Regions from separate parts of the Homo sapiens genome. Here regions 1, 2, 3 and 4 are each linked to region 5. The links are contacts of gene promoters, found by promoter capture Hi-C in blood cells and fetal thymus (Javierre and others, 2016). All regions are on one chromosome and are shown on one strand. The core of a region is centred on a gene start or on the middle of the fragment in contact, and the rest is flanking DNA. Distances in the headings are between cores, read along the strand shown.

The links. Contacts are between HindIII fragments. The CHiCAGO score rates a contact against its expected background, and 5 or more counts as called.
Region 1: a contact is called between a fragment that was not itself captured here and the fragment with the promoter of IL13RA1 in region 5, in 2 of 17 cell types (neutrophils and total CD8 T cells). The highest score is 8.4, in neutrophils.
Region 2: a contact is called between a fragment that was not itself captured here and the fragment with the promoter of IL13RA1 in region 5, in 2 of 17 cell types (total CD8 T cells and total CD4 T cells). The highest score is 5.8, in total CD8 T cells.
Region 3: a fragment that was not itself captured here is called in contact with the fragment with the promoter of IL13RA1 in region 5 in 1 of 17 cell types (monocytes); the score reaches 5.8 in monocytes.
Region 4: a fragment that was not itself captured here is called in contact with the fragment with the promoter of IL13RA1 in region 5 in 1 of 17 cell types (neutrophils); the score reaches 5.8 in neutrophils.

The regions. Positions count from the first base shown.
Region 1 is chrX:118,451,197-118,455,757 of GRCh38, forward strand. No RefSeq gene overlaps it. Among named protein-coding and RNA genes, the nearest start is that of DOCK11, 42 kb to the right of the region's middle. The HindIII fragment of the contact is 3,040 bases long and covers 87-3,126 here.
Region 2 is chrX:118,399,203-118,403,264 of GRCh38, forward strand. All of the region lies in intron 8 of WDR44 (WD repeat domain 44), which reads left to right. Among named protein-coding and RNA genes, the nearest start is that of MIR1277, 15 kb to the left of the region's middle. The HindIII fragment of the contact is 5,488 bases long and covers 1-4,062 here.
Region 3 is chrX:119,015,423-119,019,887 of GRCh38, forward strand. It overlaps LONRF3 (LON peptidase N-terminal domain and ring finger 3), which reads left to right. Exons shown (of 11, transcript NM_001031855.3): 11 at 2,113-2,933. The coding sequence ends at 2,268. Among named protein-coding and RNA genes, the nearest start is that of LONRF3, 43 kb to the left of the region's middle. RefSeq lists a silencer at 79-138. The HindIII fragment of the contact is 4,253 bases long and covers 183-4,435 here.
Region 4 is chrX:118,366,655-118,370,663 of GRCh38, forward strand. All of the region lies in intron 1 of WDR44 (WD repeat domain 44), which reads left to right. Among named protein-coding and RNA genes, the nearest start is that of MIR1277, 18 kb to the right of the region's middle. The HindIII fragment of the contact is 3,070 bases long and covers 781-3,850 here.
Region 5 is chrX:118,726,015-118,730,646 of GRCh38, forward strand. IL13RA1 (interleukin 13 receptor subunit alpha 1) reads left to right here and starts at 1,592. Exons shown (of 11, transcript NM_001560.3): 1 at 1,592-1,712. The coding sequence starts at 1,625. RefSeq lists a silencer at 1,201-1,630. The HindIII fragment of the contact is 2,975 bases long and covers 1-2,955 here.

The sequences.
Region 1 (4,561 bases), core at 357-2,856, 270 kb before region 5:
CCTACATTACTACTACTTCCTTATCTGTAATATGGGAATACCTAACTTAAATTGCAAAGATTTGCTAAGAAATCATGTATGTGTAAAGCTTGGTGCCTAACCAGTAGGTATACTCAACAGATGTACATTTCTTGCTGCCTCTCGCAAATCCGTGAGTACTCTCTCAGACCAAAAAAAAAAAAAAAGACGATATATGGAAACGCTTTCTTTTTGAGATGGAATTTTGCTCTTGTTGCCCAGGCTGGGGTGTAATGGCACGATCTCGGCTCACCACAACCTCCGCCTCCTGGGTTCAAGCGATTCTCCTGCCTCAGCCTCCCAAGTAGCTGGGATTACAGGTATGCGCCACCATGCCCAGCTAATTTTGTATTTTTAGTAGAGATGGGGTTTCTCCATGTTGGTCAGGCTAGTCTCCAACTCCCGACCTCAGGTGATCCACCCGCCTCGGCCTCCGAAAGTGCTGGGATTACAGGCACGAGCGACCACGTCCAGCCAGAAACGCTTTCTAGACATAGGGATTTCATGGACACACAGCATTTTAGGGATTGACATAGGGCACAGACATTTTTTAACACTTTTTTAACAGACACCATCTACTATCCCCACTTCATAAAAGATAAAACATTTTAATGCTAAAAACATAGGCCAAGCACTATCACATAATCTTAGAGCAACCAATAGTCTATTAAAATGAATACACTTGACTTTTGAAATAAGTAATTATATTCCCTTATTTTTCTTACGATACCATGTTATATTTTTCAATTAAGGAACCAATATTGGTATAATTAACTAAACTCCACGCTTTATTCAGATTTCACTAGTTTTTACCCATATTTGGTCATCATGTGTCCTTAGACCCCTCTTAGCCGTGACAATTTCTCAGACTTTCCATGCTTTTGATGACCCTGATAGTTTTGAGGAGTACTGGTCAAGTATTTTGTTGAATGTACCTCACATTGGGTTTGTCTAATGTTTTTCTCATGATTCAGCTGGGGTTGTGGACTTTAAGGAAGTGAATTGCTCTTTTCATTACATCACATCGAGGGTACGTTCTTATCACCTGGCTGAGGTAGTGTCCATCATATGGGCACAATTTAAGCAATCCATCAAACATTCAGGTTGTGCCTGTTTTTTATCACTGTGAATAACAATCAGAGATAGAGAAATATATATCTTGTCAGAATTTCCAATTATTGATCGAAGGTGGTAGGTCCTTAAAATGAAAGTACAAAGCATGAACTCTTAACAGTAAGCACCAGCCTGGGCAACATGGTGAGACTCCGTCTCTACAAAAAAAAAAAAAAAAAAAAAAAAAATCCAGACGTGGTGATGCATGCCTGTGGTCCCAGCGAACAGGGAGACTGAAGCAGGAGAATGGCTTGAGCCCAGGGGGTCGAGGCTGCAGTGAGCCATGTTCACACCACTGTGCTCCATGTGCTCCAGCCTGAGCAACAGAGTGAGACCCTGTCTCAAAAAAAAAAAAAAAAAGAATAAGCGATGTATGAATTACAAGAAATTCCTGCATAGAAATTGGGAACCCCAATTTGTAGTCCTGGTTGTGGTGGCCTTGTGACTTCAGGAAAGATAAGTAGTTCTCTGCAAGTCTATTAAAATGAAGTCCTTGGACTAAGATTTCTAACTCTGATGGTCCATGTGGTCCATGTGCTTGCCGGCAGTCCTTCAGAAACAGTGCAGCTGAGGATTTCCTCACTTTCTCATTCATTTATTCAAATTCCTGCTGACATAACTTGTGATCTTCTGTGGCATCAGAATGGCACAATCAGTGACTGAGTTCTACTCCTAGAACATCTAATTACAAGATCGGTATATTGAGAAGCATTTTCCCTGATTTTTTTTTTCTCAAAATATGTTCATCAACTGGATCAGTATACACTGTCTCCTCTAGGTGGTACCCAACATTTAAAATACTGCAGTGTATATTATTTGGATAAGAAGACCAAAAGCATAATTTAAAATTGCTAGGAGAAAATGCCTTAGATTTTCACCATCCCTACTTGGAGAGGGGGAGGAACATTGCAACAGATGTCAGTGCTTTGCTTCTCTTAGGACCAGAACCAAACAGAAAGGGGACCAAGAAGCAAGAAAGAATTGCGCTATTCTATTGAACCTCTGAGCAGGTTGCAAATATTAAGTTTTTAGTGAACCATGAAACCTAAGTTGTTTACAAAACAAAGTGAAGCAGTGCAAATTAGAACTGAATCTGTTTTCTAAGCCTAGAACATTAGTAAAAACTCAACTATTGGCTGGGCACGGTGGCTTACACCTGTAATCCCAGCACTTTGGGAGGCCGAGGCGGGTGGATCACCTGAGGTCATGAGTTCGAGACCAGCCTGGCCAACATTGGTGAAACCCTGTCTCTACTAAAAATACAAAAATCAACTGGGCATGGTGGCACGCACCTGTAATCCCAGCTTCTCAGGAGGCTGAGGCAGGAGAATTGCTTGAACCCAGGAGGCCTCTGGAGGTTGCAGTGGGCCGAGATGGTGCCACTGCACTCCAGCCTGGGCGACAGAGTGAGACCTCTGTCTCGGGGGGGAAAAAAAACTCAACTATTTTAAGTATGGCCAAAGTGAACTTAAATTGAACCTACCCTTGTTAAGTCAGAGTCCTTAATTAGGACAGTCTTCTCTAGAGTGAGTTTTGCATGAGGCAAAAAAGAAAGGCACACTTGGTCAGAATGAAGCTCTGTGTGTGGCAAGAGCAGGAGTGATGAAGTGGTATGGCAGCGAGAGGTACAGACAACTGGAGAAGCAGCAGCAGCTGGGACGGACACAGGTGGCAATGGGAGTGGAAGGTGGTGGGAAGCCTCAAAATCCACAGGAGATCAAGTTGAAGCAGATACAGAAGAGAATCATTCCACTTTATTGATTATTATGGAGTGATTTCACCCATAGAATACGTGTGAAAGTCAATCACAGGTCCTTGTAAGTAATGTTCAACAAATATTTGATCTGAATTGAGTCTGCTGCAGTGCATACAACAATATGAAAAAGAGTAATTGAAGAGACATTGGAAACTGACTTCCTTGGGTCAGTTTTTGCCTTAACATGGTCATTCACTAATCAGTCGAATAAACCGTTAGATAAACCATTAAGTCAGCCAAGCTTCCATGCACCTTCATTAGGGAAAGGAGTTATTTTAAGCTTATAAGCAATTCTATGAAAGCTTTCACTCTTGTGCACTAACGTCAAGAGCAGGATATTTTGTTTTTCCTTTTTCCAAGTCATCTCCTTTCAACCCCATGGGGACTTCTAAAATTGTGGTCTGCTATGCCTTCCTCAGAAGCACCTGGGAATTAGTTTAACGTGCACTGAATCACAGTCTGTTGGAGAAGGGATGCAGGAACCTGTTTTCAACAACTTTAAGAATCCCTGAGCTAGGAATAGAAGTTTAAGCAGCTAACTCATTCAGGTAAAGGCCAAGAGACAGACAAGTAGGGTCACGAATTGCCCAAGGCCTACAGCCAGTGGTGTACTAGTAAATGTTTCACAGTCCACCCTCCAAAAAAAACCAAAAATAAATTTGTAATATTTGCTAATTTCCATGGTGTAAATACTCCCACGGTGGCCAATTTTAAGCTAACAATGTGACATCACCTAACATGGTGCACTGTAGCACTGTTACATAGTATTTGTACCATAAAGATACAATAAATCTCAAGATCATAAATGGTAGTACAACATAGTAAAATAATCAGGAAGTGATGAGTTTTTAGTAATTATTACCTGTATCTTTATTATAACTTCATTGTAATATTGATTTAAATTACGACTGTGTTTAACAAATGGCTTGCAAATTTTAATGATCACCTCTCACCATTACCTGAAAACATTCTTGAAAAAGACACACATCCCTCCTTTGGCCTGTGGACTAATCAGAGCACATGAGCAATCTCAGAGAACCTGCCATGTGTCAAGTGAGGAAGGAGAAGTGTTAGGGGAGGCATTGTTTACGGATGGATTTGGCCAGTAATCAACAATCAGGAAGAGCTATTATTGTGTTCATTCCCTGGGGCCTATGTGGCCACACAGAACCAAGTAGGCAACTTAGCCTCCTCATTCAGAGGCTTGCCCTAGAGCCTGAGCTAAGAAAAAAGACCACGGGGAATGCACTGCAGCCCACAGGCAAACTGCCTTCTGCATCTTATACATACTCTAGCCCAGGATTTCTTCAGCACAGACGACCTGCATGAAGTTGTGCTTAAAATGTAATGTCTTGGCCAGACGTGGTGGCTCACGCCTGTAATCCCAGCATTTTGGGAGGCTGAGACAGGCGGACCATGAGGTCAGGAGATCAAGACCATCCTGGCTAACAAGGTGAAACCCCGTCTTTATGGCCAGGCGCAGTGGATCACGCCTGTAATCCCAGCACTTTGGGAGGCCGAGGCGGGCGGATCATGAGGTCAGGAGATCGAGACCATCCTGGCTAACACGGTGAAACCCCGTCTCTACTAAAAATACAAAAAATTAGCCGGGCGTGGTGGCGGGCACCTGTAGTCCCAGCTACTTGGGAGGCTGAGGCAGCAGAATGGCGTGAA
Region 2 (4,062 bases), core at 563-3,062, 330 kb before region 5:
TGTTATCTTAAACTGTTTTCAGACAAATACACATTAAACAATCAAAGCGTATGTTGCAAAAGGATTCTGATTATGCCATCCTTTGTTTCCCCTACAAACTTCTAGATCAATGGTGGGCCTGTACATTTTGTTTGATTATACACAAGTCACTAAATTGATAATAATTAACTCTAAGGTCCAAAGTGAATTATCCACTTGAGTCCTTTTCCTAGTGTGTATCAAAGAAAGCATTGAGAATTTTTAGGAAAGATGTACCTAAAATGCAGGCATATGATAGCACCTTAGATATTTGGAACTTGGCCATCTAGTAGTTGCAGTTATTGGGAACCTGAGAATAAGGAATTACTACAATTATTCTGGGACAGATAAACATCCAGAAGAGATGTCACATAGTCCATGCACTAAAGCTCATTATTTTTCTAAGAGAAAAGTTCCTCAGGTTTATTCAAAGCCATTATGCTTATTTCTTACATCATTTTTTTTAAAACTCTGTTCAGTGTCTGAGCTTACTGCAAAATAGAAGCAGCAAACTGTGACAACATGTAAGTTGACACATAAGAATGTCAGGTAATCAGAAAAATGATAAAATAACTCATAATATAGGTGGGTGCAGTGGCTCACACCTGTAATCCTAGCATTTTGGGAGACCAAAGTAGGAGGATCACTTGAGCCCAGGAGTTTGAGAGCAGCCTGAGCAACACAGGTAGACTCACTCTTTACCAAAAAATTTTAAAAATTAGCCAGGCATGGTGGCACACACATGTGGTCTCAGCTACTCAGGAGGCTGACATGGGAGAATTGCTTGAGCCTGAGGGATCGAGGCTGCAGTGAGCCGTGATCACACCACTGCACTTCGGCCTGGGTGACAGAGCAAGACCTTGTCCCCCACACCCCCCACCAAAAAAAAAAAACTCATAGCACAATCATTGTACCACAGTGCTTTTCAACCTTTTCTTATGCCATTGACACACAGAGAACATAATAGTATTTGCACTGAATGTTGGGGTAAGCTGGCCATCAGCTGATGGCCAGAGAAGATTGGCCCAGGCTTCCCTGGGCCCTGCCCTGTTGCCTTGAAGGCTGAGTGGGGAACCAATAGTATGGCCCACCTGCAATGCATTAGAAAGGCTCTGAATGTATTAAAGAACCAAAATGATGGTAACGATCTTATCCATCAAGGAATGAAATTTAGGGAACATTAAGTGCCATTTAAGAAGGCATAAAAGTAGATACTTTAGAACTATTACCATCTGAAATAATTAAAATGTCTGTTTTCTTGGCTTTTAAAGTGGTAGTAAACTTATAATTATCCAGAAAATACAGCTTCAGAGTTATAGGTAGCAGAGACCTTATAATGGCTTTAAAAATGGTTTATCATCTGTGTTTTCTGGTTATCAAAAGAAATACAGAAATATGTAAAATAGAAAATGAAAGTTTCTCATAATCTCAGCCCCAGAAATCAGTTTTGTTTTTTTTTTTATTATACTTTAAGTTTTAGGGTACATGTGCACATTGTGCAGGTTAGTTACACATGTATACATGTGCCATGCTGGTGCGCTGCACCCACTAACTCGTCATCTAGCATTAGGTATATCTCCCAATGCTATCCCTCCCCACTCCCCCCACCCCACCACAGTCCCCAGAGTGTGATATTCCCCTTCCTGAGTCCATGTGATCTCATTGTTCAATTCCCACCTATGAGTGAGAATATGTGGTGTTTGGTTTTTTGTTCTTGCGATAGTTTACTGAGAATGATGATTTCCAATTTCATCCATGTCCCTACAAAGGACATGAACTCATCATTTTGTATGGCTGCATAGTATTCCATGGTGTATATGTGCCACATTTTCTTAATCCAGTCTATCATTGTTGGACATTTGGGTTGGTTCCAAGTCTTTGCTATTGTGAATAATGCCGCAATAAACATACGTGTGCATGTGTCTTTATAGCAGCATGATTTATAGTCCTTTGGGTATATACCCAGTAATGGGATGGCTGGGTCAAATGGTATTTCTAGTTCTAGATCCCTGAGGAATCGCCACACTGACTTCCACAATGGTTGAACTAGTTTACAGTCCCACCAACAGTGTAAAAGTGTTCCTATTTCTCCACATCCTCTCCAGCACCTGTTGTTTCCTGACTTTTTAATGATTGCCATTCTAACTGGTGTGAGATGATATCTCATAGTGGTTTTGATTTGCATTTCTCTGATGGCTAGTGATGATGAGCATTTTTTCATGTGTTTTTTGGCTGCATAAATGTCTTCTTTTGAGAAGTGTCTGTTCATGTCCTTCGCCCACTTTTTGATGGGGTTGTTTGTTTTTTTCTTGTAAATTTGTTTGAGTCCATTGTAGATTCTGGATATTAGCCCTTTGTCAGATGAGTAGGTTGCGAAAATTTTCTCCCATTTTGTAGGTTGCCTGTTCACTCTGATGGTAGTTTCTTTTGCTGTGCAGAAGCTCTTTAGTTTAATTAGATCCCATTTGTCAATTTTGTCTTTTGTTGCCATTGCTTTTGGTGTTTTAGACATGAAGTCCTTGCCCATGCCTATGTCCTGAATGGTAATGCCTAGGTTTTCTTCTAGGGTTTTTATGGTTTTAGGTCTAACGTTTAAATCTTTAATCCATCTTGAATTGATTTTTGTATAAGATGTAAGGAAGGGATCCAGTTTCAGCTTTCTACATATGGCTAGCCAATCCAGAAATCAGTTTTAATAGCATGGTGTATTCGCCATAGAATTTTTTTTTCTCGTAAAAGCGGGGCTACTCTATGTCTATAGTTTGTCAACTTGCTGTTTTTTGTTTTTTTTGTTTTTTTGGTTTTTTTTTAGAAAATCAAATATATCATAGACATCTCTTTATATCAGCACTAATAATATATATATTGTAGTCTTTCTGAGAGCCAGATATGAGAGTTAAGTGCTTGGGATATAACAGTTAAGACATTAAGAGGCCAGGCGTGGTGGCTCATGCCTGTAATCCAGCACTTTGGGAGGCCGAGGCAGGTGGATTACCTGAGGTCAGGAGTTCACGACCAGCCCGGCCAACATGGTGAAAGCCCATCTCTACTAAAAATACAAAAAATTAGCTGGGCATGGTGGTGGGCGCCTGTACTCCTAGCTACTCGGGAGGCTGAAGCAGGAGAATTGCTTGAACCCAGGAGGCAGAGATTGCAGTGAGCTGAGATCATGCCTTTGCACTCCAGCCTGGGCATCAAGAGTGAAACTCTGTCTCAAAAAAAAAAAAAAAAAAAAAAAACATTCAGGATGGGTGCAATGGCTCATGCTTGTAATCCGAGCACTTTGGGAGGCCAAGGCAGGTGGATCACTTGAGTCCAGGAGTTCAAGACCAGCCTGGGCAACATGGCAGGACCCCGTCTCTACAAAAAATACAAAAATTAGCCAGGCATGGTGGTGTGTGCCTGTAATCCCAGCAACTCAGAAGGCAGAGGCAGGTGGGTCTATTGATCCTGGGATGTCAAGGCTGCAGTGAGCCAAAATCATGCCACTGCACTCCAGTCTGGGCAACAGAGCAAGACTCTGTCTCAATTAAAAACAATTTATAAAAAAGACATTCGTGGTCTCTGCCTTCATAGAACTTCTGTTAAATGGGAGAAATAGGCATTAAACATGTAATTGCACAGATAAGTCTAGCTACATTTGTAGTGATTGCTATAAAAGAAAAGTTCCAGGTGCTGTGGAGATATTACAGTAGTTCCCTCTTATCCATGGGGTATACGTTCCAAGATCCCCAGTGGATACCTGAAATCACAGATAGTACCAGACTCTGTATCTACTGTGTTTTTTCTATCTGATAACCAAGAAGACTACTAAGTAATAAGTGGGTATCATCTATAGCGTGGAAACACTGGACAGAGGGATGATTCACATCCCAGGTAGGATGGAGCAGGGTGGTGTGAGATTTCATCATGCTACTCAGAATGGCACACGATTTAAAACTTACAAATTGTTTTATTTCTGGGATTTTCCATTTAATATTTTTGGACCATGGTTGACTGGGGTAACTGAAACCATGTAAAGTCAAACTTGGGATAAACGGGGAC
Region 3 (4,465 bases), core at 1,059-3,558, 290 kb after region 5:
TCCCTAAATGAAATGTCTTGCTTTCCTCAGACCACAAAGGTGGCTTCTTTCCCCCCCCATGCAAAGGCATCATGAGTTTTCAAGGGAGAAAGGCCAGTTAGTGCTTCCTGTGACCCAGCTCCTGGCTCTGGGCCACGATGAGTCAGGACTGCAGCATATACCTCTGAGCAAACTCACGATCAAGCTTAATGTTCCCCTTCACCTTCCGGGAAGCGTTCTCCCTTAGGCAAAAGATACAGATCAGCAATGGTAACGGGAAAACACAGATGCTACAGTGTGATTCATAAAGGCTAATGACAGAGAAAGTTGAAATCTTGGGTTTCACTTCCTTTTTTCTTAGTTCTGTTATTATGTTGCTTTGGCAGCAGCAGCACCAGCAAAAAAGAAAAACCCATACCCATCCCAGTTTGCTCCAGTCAATGCTGCATCCCCAGTGGTCCCACAAATAAGCATGTTCTGTCAGGAGGATGTTTCTTAGAAACTGCCACAAGTGTTAATACCAGCTTAAATATCTTTGTTGGTGATCCTTGGAAAGAAAGTTCAGAACATCAGTCTAATATTCAGAACTGATCATAGGAGGGAGAGCATATTGCCAGCTTCAGGGAGGGACAAAAAAGAATGCAAATGAAGTTAGAGGCACAAAGAAGCAAAGAAGGCAGTGAGATTTGGTGACGATCAGAGGAACCAATTTGGAGCCAAATAATTTCAGGTGTAGGCACTTTGACCAGAATGGTTCTCTATAGTCCTAAAACCAAACTTGTGAAAGTTGTGGGCAGAAAGCTCGTTTTAGGCTTAGAAGGAAATAAGTACCCAATGTCTAAAATATGTGCCAGGGAAGCTGCTTTGGGGAAGGATTTATGTGGAATGGGAAAGCTCTTTATTAAAAGGAAATCTAGGGGCAGAATATATTTCTTTCTTTCTTTCTTTCTTTTTTTTTTTTTTTTGAGACGGAGTCTTGCTCTGTCGCCCAGGCTGGAGTGCAGTGGCATATCTCAGCTCACTGCAAGCTCCGCCTCCCAGGTTCACGCCACTCTCCTGCCTCAGCCTCCGGAGTAGCTGGGACTACAGAAGCCCGCCACCGCGCCCGGCTAATTTTTTGTATTTTTAGTAGAGATGGGGTTTCGTCGTGTTAGCCAGGATGGTCTCGATCTCCTGACCTCGTGATCCACCCGCTGGCCTCCCAAAGTGCTGGGATTACAGGCGTGAGCCACTGTGCCCGGCCCTGGGGCAGAATATATTTCTAATGTGAATGTTTTCTAATTGGAATTTTTGCAAAGTGAGATTGTGATTCTTTGGGACTGTAAATCATAGCCTTTGGTTTCAGGGGAGAAGAGAGCTATGGCCCTGTATAGTGACATGGTATACATGGACTATTGCCTTCAGCCACATCAAGGAAATGAGGGGACTTAAAAGACATGCAAAGGTCAAGGGGTCATGGGAATCGAAGGCCTGAATGTTAAATGCATCAGTCCAAAGGACCTCAACAGAATATTAGAAGTGGAAGAGACTACATAGTAGATACCAGCTTGTAAAATCACATTGGCTAGGAGGCATGGTGTATCTGTTAGGATACTGGTTGGTTTGCTTTAACAAGAAACAAAAATGACTGGAGCTTAAACAAGATGGAGGGGCTAAGTCTTGGACAGTTAGGGCAGCTCTATTCCACAAGAGCATTCAGGCACCCAGGCTCCTTCATCACAAAACTCTACCATCCTTAAAATGTCTCCCTCATCCTCTTGATTGAGAAAGGCTGATCCTCACCACGTCCATGTTCTAGCTAGGGGAAAGGGAGAGAAAGAGGAAGGCAGAGGGCATATGCTTCTTTCCCAGAGCATGACCAAGAGGTTACACATATCACTTCCCTTTACATCTCATTAGCCAGAACTTTGTCTCATGGCCTCACCTAGCTGCAAGGGAAGCTGAGAAATGCAGTCTTTTTTCTGGGTGGCTATATGCCCTGCTAAAATAAGGGGGAAAATAGATATAGGGTCAATTAGCAATCTGCCACATGGAGTTGTTCTACCTGGGGTCTTTACCTTGAGCATTTGGAACTCTGCAGACTGATGTTCTTGGATGGGAATAGGATGACTCCATTGTGTTTCTCTGTTGCAGATGAACCCGAATGGCCCAGCCTGGTGCTGGTGGATGTTAGCAGTTCTTCCCTTGGAAAGCCGAGCTCAGCTCCCCTTCCTAGCAATGAGGTCCTTAAAGGACAGACTGAATGGTATTCGACGAGTCCTGGCCTTCATATCCCGAAACCAAAACTAGTGAGTGGATTGCCGAAGAGGAGCTCCCACCTTCCCCACTGCCGTCGGGGGGAGTCTTCTTGTAAATATATCTAATTGCAATAATATCTTAACAGAAGGGGGTGTCAAACAGAGGCATCAGCCTGCTGTTGATCACAGAGAGAAATTGAGTAGAAAGACCAAAAGAATGTGACCTATTTGAAACTTTCTGTCTTAAGATGCTTCTTGACATGCTGCATAACTACATAAACAGCAGAGGTGTTTAAGAGCCCAGAAAAACATAATTTGATTTTAACATTAAAATTTCCAAAAGTTTAAAGTGGTTTTGCTTTAATATTCTTTCTTTCATAGATCAATGACTGTGTGGTTGAAATGTGAAAACAAAGATACTAATAATGTTGCTGTATAATTTCACTGACTTGAGGTCTCATTCCAAATGGTTCAGGTTTTATAGAGCATTGTGTAAAATAATGTTCATACTTCTTTCTGTTTTAATAATTTATTTTTTGCACTACTGTATCCTTTTTTCTACATGTATGTTTGTAACTATTTAAGCGTACATTGCTGAAAAGTCCATTGCTTTATTTATTGATGTGGTTTACCATGTACCTAGGGGGAAATAACAATACTAGAAGTGTGCAGTTTTTGCTTTTATCTTTTTTTTACTACAATGACACTAGTTCTTAGACCATTTCCGTATCTATCCAAATGGATGCTTAAAAGAAGTTCAGAATGATGCTAAGATCATCTGTCTTCAGAGTCCACTTTTTTTTTTCAGTTTGAACTAAACAATATAAAATACTTAAGGGATTTGGCCTAGATTATGGTATATGCCAAGGTAAAGTAAAATAATTCATTTTCTGTGTGTAATACAGAACAAAGCTGAAAGAATTATTTTTATTATAGGCATTTACTTCAGCAATCTAATTGTACGTGTATCTAATTTTTCCCCAGTGCAGTTAGGAATCGGATTTTGGGCAGGATCATAATTAACTCTTCAGAGGAAATGGTGTTCAGTTTAGCACATCACAGTCATGCCCAACTAGCCTCCATAACCCACCTCTCCCCGGGGTTCTGAGGATCAAGACCTGGACAGAAACACTTGATAAGGACTTTTTATTATTAAAATGTAAATAAGACAAATAGAGTAGAACCCTATAAAAATCTTTTTAAAGGAACCAGATGGCCGGGCACGGTGGCTCACGCCTGTAATCCCAGCACTTTGGGAGGCCGAGGCAGGCGGATCACTTGAGGTCAGGAGTTCGAGAGCAGCCTAACTAACATGATGAAACCCTGTCTCTACTAAAAATGGATACAAAATTAGCCAGGCTTGGTGGTGTATGCCTGTAATCCCAGCTACTTGGGAGGCTGAGGCAGGAGAATCACATGAACCTGGGAGATGGAGGTTGCAGTGAGCCGAGATTGCACCACTGCACTCCAGCCTGGGCAACGAGCAAACCTGCGTCTCAAAAAAAAAAAAAAAAAAAAAAAAAGGGAACCAGATAATCTATTATTTTACCTAAGTACTGCCTTTGCTTCTAGTTGCATGGGTGAAATATTTCAATGTATGGGGAGAATATAGGGTGAGGAGTAAGAGTAAGCCCTGATTTAGCTTGCTTAGTGCTAGTTTGAGTCCTTCAGTGGCAGGACAGCCTGTAAAGTACCACAAGTATGGGAGTGTTATAATGGCAGAGTGAAACGATTAGAGCAGGGAGGAAGTGAATTGTGCCATTAGTACCTTCATGCAAATTATACCATGTGATTTTGGACAGTGAATGATTTTTGCATCATTCATTCACAGCCCATCACTCTGTTAAGGTGAGAGTGTAATTCTTACTTCTCCCATCACCACCTGTAGCTAGAAACAGGAAAGGGAGAATGAGATGATCCAGACAACATAAAAAAGATGCATGTAAGCAGAAACCAGATGGTCTTTTCTGCACTCACTTAATGGACATTATGTTGCCAGAGTGTTGTGTTTATCAGATTTGATGTTTGGAGCTAGTCTGGGCAGGTGAAGAACAGAAATAGGCGGAAGTATAGGCATTATTTCTGCGCAAGCAAACTCCACAAAGCTCAGGGAGCAGAAAAGACTCCCCCTCCCACCTGGTTCCCAGACCATGTGGTCATAACACAATCCTAATAGTTTCTGGTTATCTAGTGTAAATGCAACAAAGAAAAAGGCCCTAAGCTTCTCTACTTATTAGATATATTATTTT
Region 4 (4,009 bases), core at 1,066-3,565, 360 kb before region 5:
GTTATATAACAGCATGTTATATATAATATATATAATCTATTAATGTATATAATAAGGAATTGTTAAATTTTATAGTAGTGTTGTGGTTATGTTTTAAAGAGAAATCTTTGTCCTTTTTAGATGCATACTGAAATATTTATGGTTAAAAATGAAATGGTTTCGGCCGGGCGCAGTGGCTCACGCCTGTAATCCCAGCACTTTGGGAGACCGAGGCGGGCAGATGACGAGGTCAGGAGATGGAGACCACGGTGAAACCCCGTCTCTACTAAAAATGCAAAAAAATTAGCTGGGCGCAGTGGCGGGCGCCCGTAGTCCCAGCTACTCAGGAGGCTGAGGCAGGAGAATGGCGTGAACCTGGAAGGCGGAGCTTGCGGTAAGCCGAGATCACGCCACTGCACCCCAGCCTGGGCAACAGAGCAAGACTCCGTCTCAAAAAAAAAAAAAAATGAAATGGTTTCTGGGATTTGCTTCAAAATAATCTGGCAGAGGGGTGGAAGAGGAGTACTGATATTTTTATCATTGTTGAACATGATCAACATGTTGTATATTTGGGTTTATAATATTATTCTCCCAATTTTGTATATATTTGAAATAGCCATAAGTAAATGTTGGAAAAACTCCCCCTAAATATTTATTGTCACATAGATTTTTACTGGCAGATTTGGGACTAAAACTCAGGTCTCCTGATTCTGCTCTTTTTTTGTGTGTGTGTAGCTAAAATTATAGCTCTTGTACTTTCAGATTGATGTCATGTTGTCCTTTCAGTCTCTGGGACCCCCAAGCTTTCCCTGAGAAATTTGTGGTAGTACTTGTAGATAAATTAAGGCCTTACTAAAGGGTCACAGTTTCACTTGACTGGCTACCTACCTATGTGAAACCATAAGGGACATTAGACTTACTAGTGTAGAGAGGCTGCATGGGTTATTAGAACCAGCAAAGAAACTTGGGTCCTAGTCTTCACTAGGCCTTAGCATAAGTTCTAAGATGGCAGGGACCATGTCTGTTTTGTTCACTACTTTATACTCAATACCTGGGACCATGCCAGGTACATGGAAACAATCAGTAAATGTTGAATTAATGGATTAATTTAACCGATGGCATAATTTCCCTCACATGTAAAATGAGACAGTTGATCTAAATGATTCTTAAGTTTCCTTCAAACACTGAAAAAAAAAGTACTCTTGCCTTCTGACTGATTTTTTTAAAATCCTTTTAGGATTTTGAAAAGGATTACTGTAAATTTCTTTAACACTAGGTGACATCAGTAGGTAATATGCTCACTTTGAATAACTGTTATAGAAAAACCACAGTTGCTATATTGCATCAAAATCTCTTTAAAAATAGACTACTGTTATATATTTTCTGTTAGATTGGTATTTATTTCTATAAAGTACATGCATACTGTTCTCAACATACTAAATTAGAGAGTCAGGTTTAGCAAGTTCCAAAGTGTAGCCATCTAAGAAGGTTACTAAAATGTTCCCTTTGCTTGCATACTTGTGCTTTTTGCTTCAGTTGTATTGAATGCAGTACTATTATGTCAGAGTTTATAAAGGATTTGACATTTTGCTTCCCAAGGAAAAATCAGTGGGCAACTTTTGGTTAAGTGGCAGTTATTGTCATCGCATCAGTGACTAGGCTCCTATCATTGGGAGTAATGACCTTATTATGAAATTTTGCTTCAGGTATCTGTAGGTTATCGCTGAATCAGGTCAGAGTTTGTAAAAGAAAACTAATTCCTATACCGTTTTATAAAATCACCAGAACAGTGTTTTGAAGCCACATACATGTTTTGAAATAGTGACTATATATATATATATATATATACTTCTTGAGGACCTTTCCGCATTCCTCCAGCTCCTTCTGAAGCCTTGTCTTGGCTGATACATGGATGTTGATGACCTCTCTTGTTGCTTCTCCCAGCAGTGTTTACCAAGGGCCTTTGGGAAAGGTTTGCATGACATCACAGGGCAGCTAGAGGGGAGAAGTGTTGGGAGACTGGAAAGGCCTCTGTGTGATGCCACTAATCATATGAAGTAGCAATCCACATACTCTTCCTTTTTTTTTTTTTTTTTTTTTTGGAGACAGAATCTTGCTCTGTCACCCAGGCTGGAGTGCAGCGGTGGATCTCGGCTCACTGCAACCTCTGCCTCCCGGGTTCAAGCGACACTCCTGCCTCACCCTCCTGAGTAGCTGGGACTACGGGTGTGCACCACCACACCTGGCTAATTTTTTTTTTCTTTTTGTATTTTTAGTAGAGATGGGATTTCGCCACATTGGCCAGGCTGGTCTCAAACTCCTGACCTCAGACAATCCACCCACCTTGGCCTCCCAAAGTGCTGGGATTACAGGCATGAGCCACCATGCCTGGCCAAAAATAATTTCTATAATTAAAATGCTAAATGAATAGGGACTGGAGAAAGCATGTAATAAACTATTTTATATTCAGACATGAGCTTTGTTAATATAAACTAAATGTTAGCTAGTGTACTAGTGTATGAAAATAACTTTCTTTTTTATTTTATTTTATTTTTTGAGACAGAGTCTCACTCTTTCACCCAGGCGGGAGTGCAGTGGCCCTATCTCGGCTCACTGCAAGCTCCGCCTCCCGGGTTCACGCCATTCTCCTGCCTCAGCCTCCCGACTAGCTGGGACTATAGGCACCCGCCACCATGCCCGGCTAATTTTTTGTGTTTTTGGTAGAGACGGGGTTTCACTGTGTTAGCCAGGGTGGTCTCGATCTCCTGACCTCGTGATCCGCCCGCCTCGGCCTCCCAAAGTGCTGGGATTACAGGTGTGAGCCACCACGCCCGGCCTTTTTTTTTTTTTTTTTGAAATGGAGTCTTGCTCTGTCACCCAGGCTGGAGTGCAGTGGCGGGATCTCGGCTCACTGCAAGCTCCGCCTCCCAGGTTCACGCCATTCTCCTGCTCAGCCTCCCGAGTAGCTGGGGCTACAGGCGCCCACCACCACGCCTGACTAATTTTTTGTATTTTTAGTAGAGATGGGGTTTCACCGTGTTAGCCAGGATGGTCTCAATCTCCTGACCTTGTGATCTGCCCGCCTCGGCCACCAAAGTGCTGGGATTACAGGTGTGGGCTACCACGTCCAGCCGAAAATAACTTTCTAATAGAAAACAGGATATAATGCATTAAAATGTTCTATTTATATTGAAAGTTGCTGAAGTACTAATCTTAAAATTGCCTTTATATTCAAAACCTAAGTGGAAGACACACTAAATAATTTTAGTATTTGATCTGTAAGCCATGTGGGTTTTTTAGTAGAATATCAGTACTTATTTGAATCAGAATTTATTTTGAAGCTGTTTCAGACGTTGCTTTTTGTGTTTAAATTCATTGGCAGCATTGATAGACACTGTCTTCAATTTCAGAAACTATGCTGCAAAATCAAAATTTTGCTGTTTTTGACATTAGTCTAGGCAATGATATTTTGGATTTAACCCCAAAAGCACAGGCAACAAAAGCAAAAATACACAAATGAGATTGTGTCAGACTAAAATTGGTCTGATAAAATTGCACAGCAAAGGAAACAACAGTGAAAAGACAACCTACAGATTGGGAGAAAATATTTGCAAAACATATGGTTTAGATGTTTTGTGCCCTCCAATTCTTATGTTGAAATGTGACCTTCAGTATTGGAGGTAGGCCTAGTGGGAGGTGTTTCAGTCATGGGGCAGATCCCTCATGAATGTCTTGGTGCTGTCCTCACGATGAATGACTTCTTGGCCTGAGTTCACGCAAGATCTGGTTGTTTAAAAGTGGGTGGCATCTCCTCCCCCACTTTCTTCCTGTCTTGCTATGTGATGCATCCCTTTTGCATTCCATGATTGGAAGCTTCCTGAGGCCCTCACCGGGAGCAGATGCTGGTACCATTCTTCTTGTACAGCCTGCAAAACCATGAGCTAAAATAATAAACCTCTTTTTTTTTTTTAGACAGAGTCTCGCTCTGTCGCCAGGCTGGAGTGCAGTGGCGCAATGTCGGCTCACTAAA
Region 5 (4,632 bases), core at 342-2,841:
TCCCAAAAGGTACCCTTTTTGTATCCCATAATTCCTTGTTCTTGCCCTTATCATTGCCCCTCAGACTGACTGCAGCTTTCTGTTAGCAGAGCTTGCTTTTGGTGAGTGTCTTCAACAGTTCCTGGAACAATTTCATAAATATTTATTGAGTTTGAGAGCCTTAATTCCAAGAGTGGAACCTTTGTTGTGAATAGGTTAAACAACCCTGTGCCCTTTGGGTGGGGTCTAGACTAGGTATATTATCAGCATTTTTATTGCTATACTTTTTGTAACTGTTTTCAGGTATATGCATTGGCTTAATTCGGCCAAAATACACCTCATTATGGGTCTCATCATCCACCTAGACATGATTCTTTTTTGGGAGAAGGTGATAGAATAATGTCCCCCTCCCATGATTCCATATCGTGATCCCCAACACCTGTGAATATGTTAACTTACATAGCAAAAATGACTTTTCAGTTATGATTAAATCAAGGATTTTGAGATGGGGAGATTATTATGAATTATCTGGTGGACCTAATCTAATCACAAGGGTATTTATAAGGGAAAAGGGGAAGTAAGAGGGTCAGAGTCAGATACGACAAGGGAAGCAGAGGTCTGAGTAGTTCCGCAACAAGCCAAGGAATGTGGGTAGCCTCTAGAAGCTGGAAAAGTCAAAGACACAGATTCTCCCCTAGAATATCCAGAAGGAATACATCTCTGCCCACACCTTGATTTAAGCTCAGTGTCACTTCTGACCTCCAGAACTGTAATAAAATAAAACTGTTAAATCACTAAATTTGTGGTCATTTTTGACAGCAGCAACAGGAAACGCCTAAGGACTCTTGTTTTCCTTCCTCCCAGCCTCACTGACCCTCATAGGCGCCCAAGTATCAATGTGTATTCTTCCGATTCACCTCCCATCCCTTTGAAAAATATGTAGAAAGTTTGTCGTGTGCTTTAAAAAATGCACGTATGGTATCCTCCCTCATGTTTGGAATGTTCCTTTTAAAATCAACATTATGTATTGCCAGCTTTCAAATATGCCCTTTGTCCTTTTCACAAAGCACAGTACTGCCAGTGTCCCCAACTCCACCCAGTGAAGTAGGGCTGGTATTACTAACCCTGGAGTCAGCGCTAGCAAACAAGGGCTCAGAGGTCAAGGGCTGGAAGCCAGGTCTCCAGACTCCCAGGCCAAGGCTCTTTTCCGCAGATGACTCTGTCCTGGTGTCCAGCAGGGCACAGCCCCTAGCACCTCCGAGGCCCCGCAAGTGTGCTGGCAGCGGCGACGCCGGCTCCGCCACGCGGAGGGAGGAGGCCCAGGCAGCGCCCGGAGTGGGCGGCGACGTGGTGGAAGAAGTTTTGTTCGGTCAGAGACCGGACGCGGGAGCTGCGGGTGGGCCAGGTGTCCAGCCTTGGGAGCCGTAGGAGCCGCCAGAGCCGCCAGAGCCGCCGGCGCCCCGCCCCGCCTCCTCCGGCCGCTCTCGCCGGCTCAGGTTACCTGAGGCCGGTGGGCGGGGCGGCCCTTCCCGTCTGCGCCGGCCCCCAGCCTCCAGGGCGGCGGAGCCGGGAAGTGGAAGAGGGAGCGAAGGAGGCGGGGACTGCCAAGGCTCCAGCCCGGCCGGGCTCCGAGGCGAGAGGCTGCATGGAGTGGCCGGCGCGGCTCTGCGGGCTGTGGGCGCTGCTGCTCTGCGCCGGCGGCGGGGGCGGGGGCGGGGGCGCCGCGCCTACGGGTGAGTGCGACCCTCGGGGCCCGAGGGGCGGCCGGAGGGCTGAGGGCGGTGAGGGTCACGGCTGAAAGGCCCCGGAGGTCAACGCCGGGCGGAGGGCCGAAGCTGGGGTGGGTGCTGGGGGCTGCCCTCGCGAGGCCCCGCGCTCGGCGGCTGCGGCTTCCCGCGCGGGATCTCTGGGGCCCGGTACTGGGGCCGGTTCGAGGTGGGACCCGGGAGCTGCGGGGTTTTCCCGAACTCCGGGTGCGGCGGAGGTGGCGGCAGCGAAGTAAGAGGGCTGCGACTTGTAGTGGGAAGAGCCCAGGAGGCTGGCGTCCAGGCGTGCGGGGGCGGGGGGCCCGAAACATGCCCACGGCGTCAGAGGGCCGTGGGTCAGCGCCCGGAATGTCGCCTGTGAGCCCGGGAGGAAATGAGGCGCCAGAGCCGGCGGGGACCACGACCGAAGTCCAGGCGAGCTGAGAACGCGCCGGGGCTCTTTGCCCGAGGCCGCGCCAATCCTCACTGTCTAAGGGTGGCTCTTGCGAGTGGAAGTTGAAGGGAACCTCTAAACATCTCAGTCCTTGTTGAAAAAGGACGTGACGCTCATGACCTCCTCTGGCGTCGAAGAAATCCTTTGGGAAATCCAGAATAGCATCCCGGCAGATGCTCCCCCCACCCCACTCTCTTTAATAAACCTTATATTTTAGGGTAATTGTAGATTTATGGAAAAGTTGCAAAGATACTTCAGAGAGTTGTGTATATCCCTCACCCTGTTTGGTAACTTCTAGTTAATCAACCTGGCAGTTGTGAAAAATTGGGAGTTAATGACTTCCTTAGGAGCAGCTCCTGGAAGGAATGGCCTTCTGGACGTTTTTGGTGACAATGAAAGCCCCAAACTGTATAGGTTTTATTATCACATTGACACAAACACTTATATATGCTTATTGCATTTTTACCAATGTGCTTTGAAATCCAAGTTGAAATGTTGATTAGGAAACCTTAATGCCCTCTATGGATTCAGTCAATAAAATACATGCTGCCAGGCAGTGTTTAGGGGCTGAGGATGCAGCAGTGAGCAAAACAGATGAGGTGCCTGCCCTCAGACATATCGGGGGGTGGGGGTAAAATATATGATATGTCTGAGGGTGTTAAGTAGAGAAAAACAGAGCAGGTGGGAAGGGGTTTGCCATTGTAAAAAGGGTGGATCGAGAAGAAAACAAATGTTGCTGAAAGGTGGCATTTGAGTAGAGACCTGAGGGAGACTTGAAGCTTGTCAGTCAATAATTATTCAGGTGTCTGCCTTATTTAGTACTGAGTCAGGCCCTCTAGGTTGACTTAGAACCTGAGAGTGTATAGCAAAATTCTTGCCCCAAAAGGGCCTCTAGTTTAGTTGGGTACACCTGATTTCCGTAATCATATGGGGACATTGCAGTCCAGAGAAGGGAAGGAACTTGTCTAAAGTTACCCGTCTCATTAGTCTCCTGATTTTCACAGTGCCACTCCAGCACCCTCCCTCCTACAGACTCACTCCCACACACACCTGAAACAACAGCTGGCCATCTAGAGAATACTGGCAACTCCCAACTTCATCAGTCCTGTCACAATGGTTTGTCGTTAGCTTGCTTATTTAGAAAACAAACTTCTTTCCCCATTAAAAGTATTGATAGAATTGCATTGAGGTATGGTGGGAAAAAATTAGATGTTTCCAGTGAGACTTGAGTTTTAGTGGTTCTGATATTTACCACCTGTGGGACTCTGGGCTGGTCATTTCCTCTCTTTTGTGCTGCAGTTAGTTTTCTCATCTGTGAAATGAGGAGGTTGAACTGCATAAATTCTAAGAGCTCCTCCAGCTCTAATCCTCAGAGTGTTTATAAAAGTGATTAGATTACTAGCTTAGTTTAACCTGTCCCACTCAATGGCCCACATTGTGGCATGTCTTAATTATAACTAGCATGTATATAGCATTTATGCCCAGCAGTTTTCTAGCTGCTTTACTTGTACTATTTCATTTAATCTTTACCAATAATATAACTTGTAGGTGCTGTTATTAGTCCCATTTTGTACACGAAAAAGTTGAGGCACAGTGCGACCAAGACCCTTGCCCAAATTCGCATACCTGGCAAAGTGGAAGAGCTAGGTTTCCAACCCTGGCAGCCTGATTCCAGAGGCCATGCCCTTAACCACTGTACTCATTGCTTCTGCCCAGCAGAAAAGACGAGAGTCCTTAGCTGGACACCTCCCAGGGTAGCAGGGCAGGACGGCTTGGGACCCACGAAAGTATGTGCAAGCCATTTGTTAAGAAGCTAATGATACTATATTAGGCCGGGTGCAGTGGCTCATGCCTGTAATCCCAGCACTTTAGGAGACTGAGGCAGATGGATCACTTGAGGCCAGGAGTTTGAGCCTGGCCAACATGGCAAAACCCCGTCTACTAAAAATACAAAAATTAGCCGAGTGTGGGATTACATGCCTGTAATCCCAGCTACTCAGGAAGCTGAGGCATGAGACTCATTTGATCCTGGGAGGCAGAGGTTGCAGTGAGGGAAGATCAGGCCACTGCACTTCAGCCTGGGCGACAGAGCAAGACTGTCTCAAAACAAAAAAAGAAGCGAATGATACTACATTGGAGACTGGCTTTATAGTGGCTGGGCTGTGTGGTCCAAACAACTAGTACTATAGGCATTCAAAAGAGAAAAAGCTGACGGTTGGTAGTGTTATGGAAGAGGTAAAACTTGAGCTAGATCTTCTGGATGACTGGGATTTGAGTAGGTGGAGAATTTATTCCAGGTGGGGGCAATAGCAGGAGCAGAGACCCAGAAATGAGGGCAAGAGTGCTCCTTTGTGGTCAAGAAGGAACCTGGCTTGGCAGGAGAGTGCATTGGTAAAGTCAATCCAGGCAGAATAGCTTGATTTGCCCTTGAAAGCTCTGAGTCCGGCACAGCAT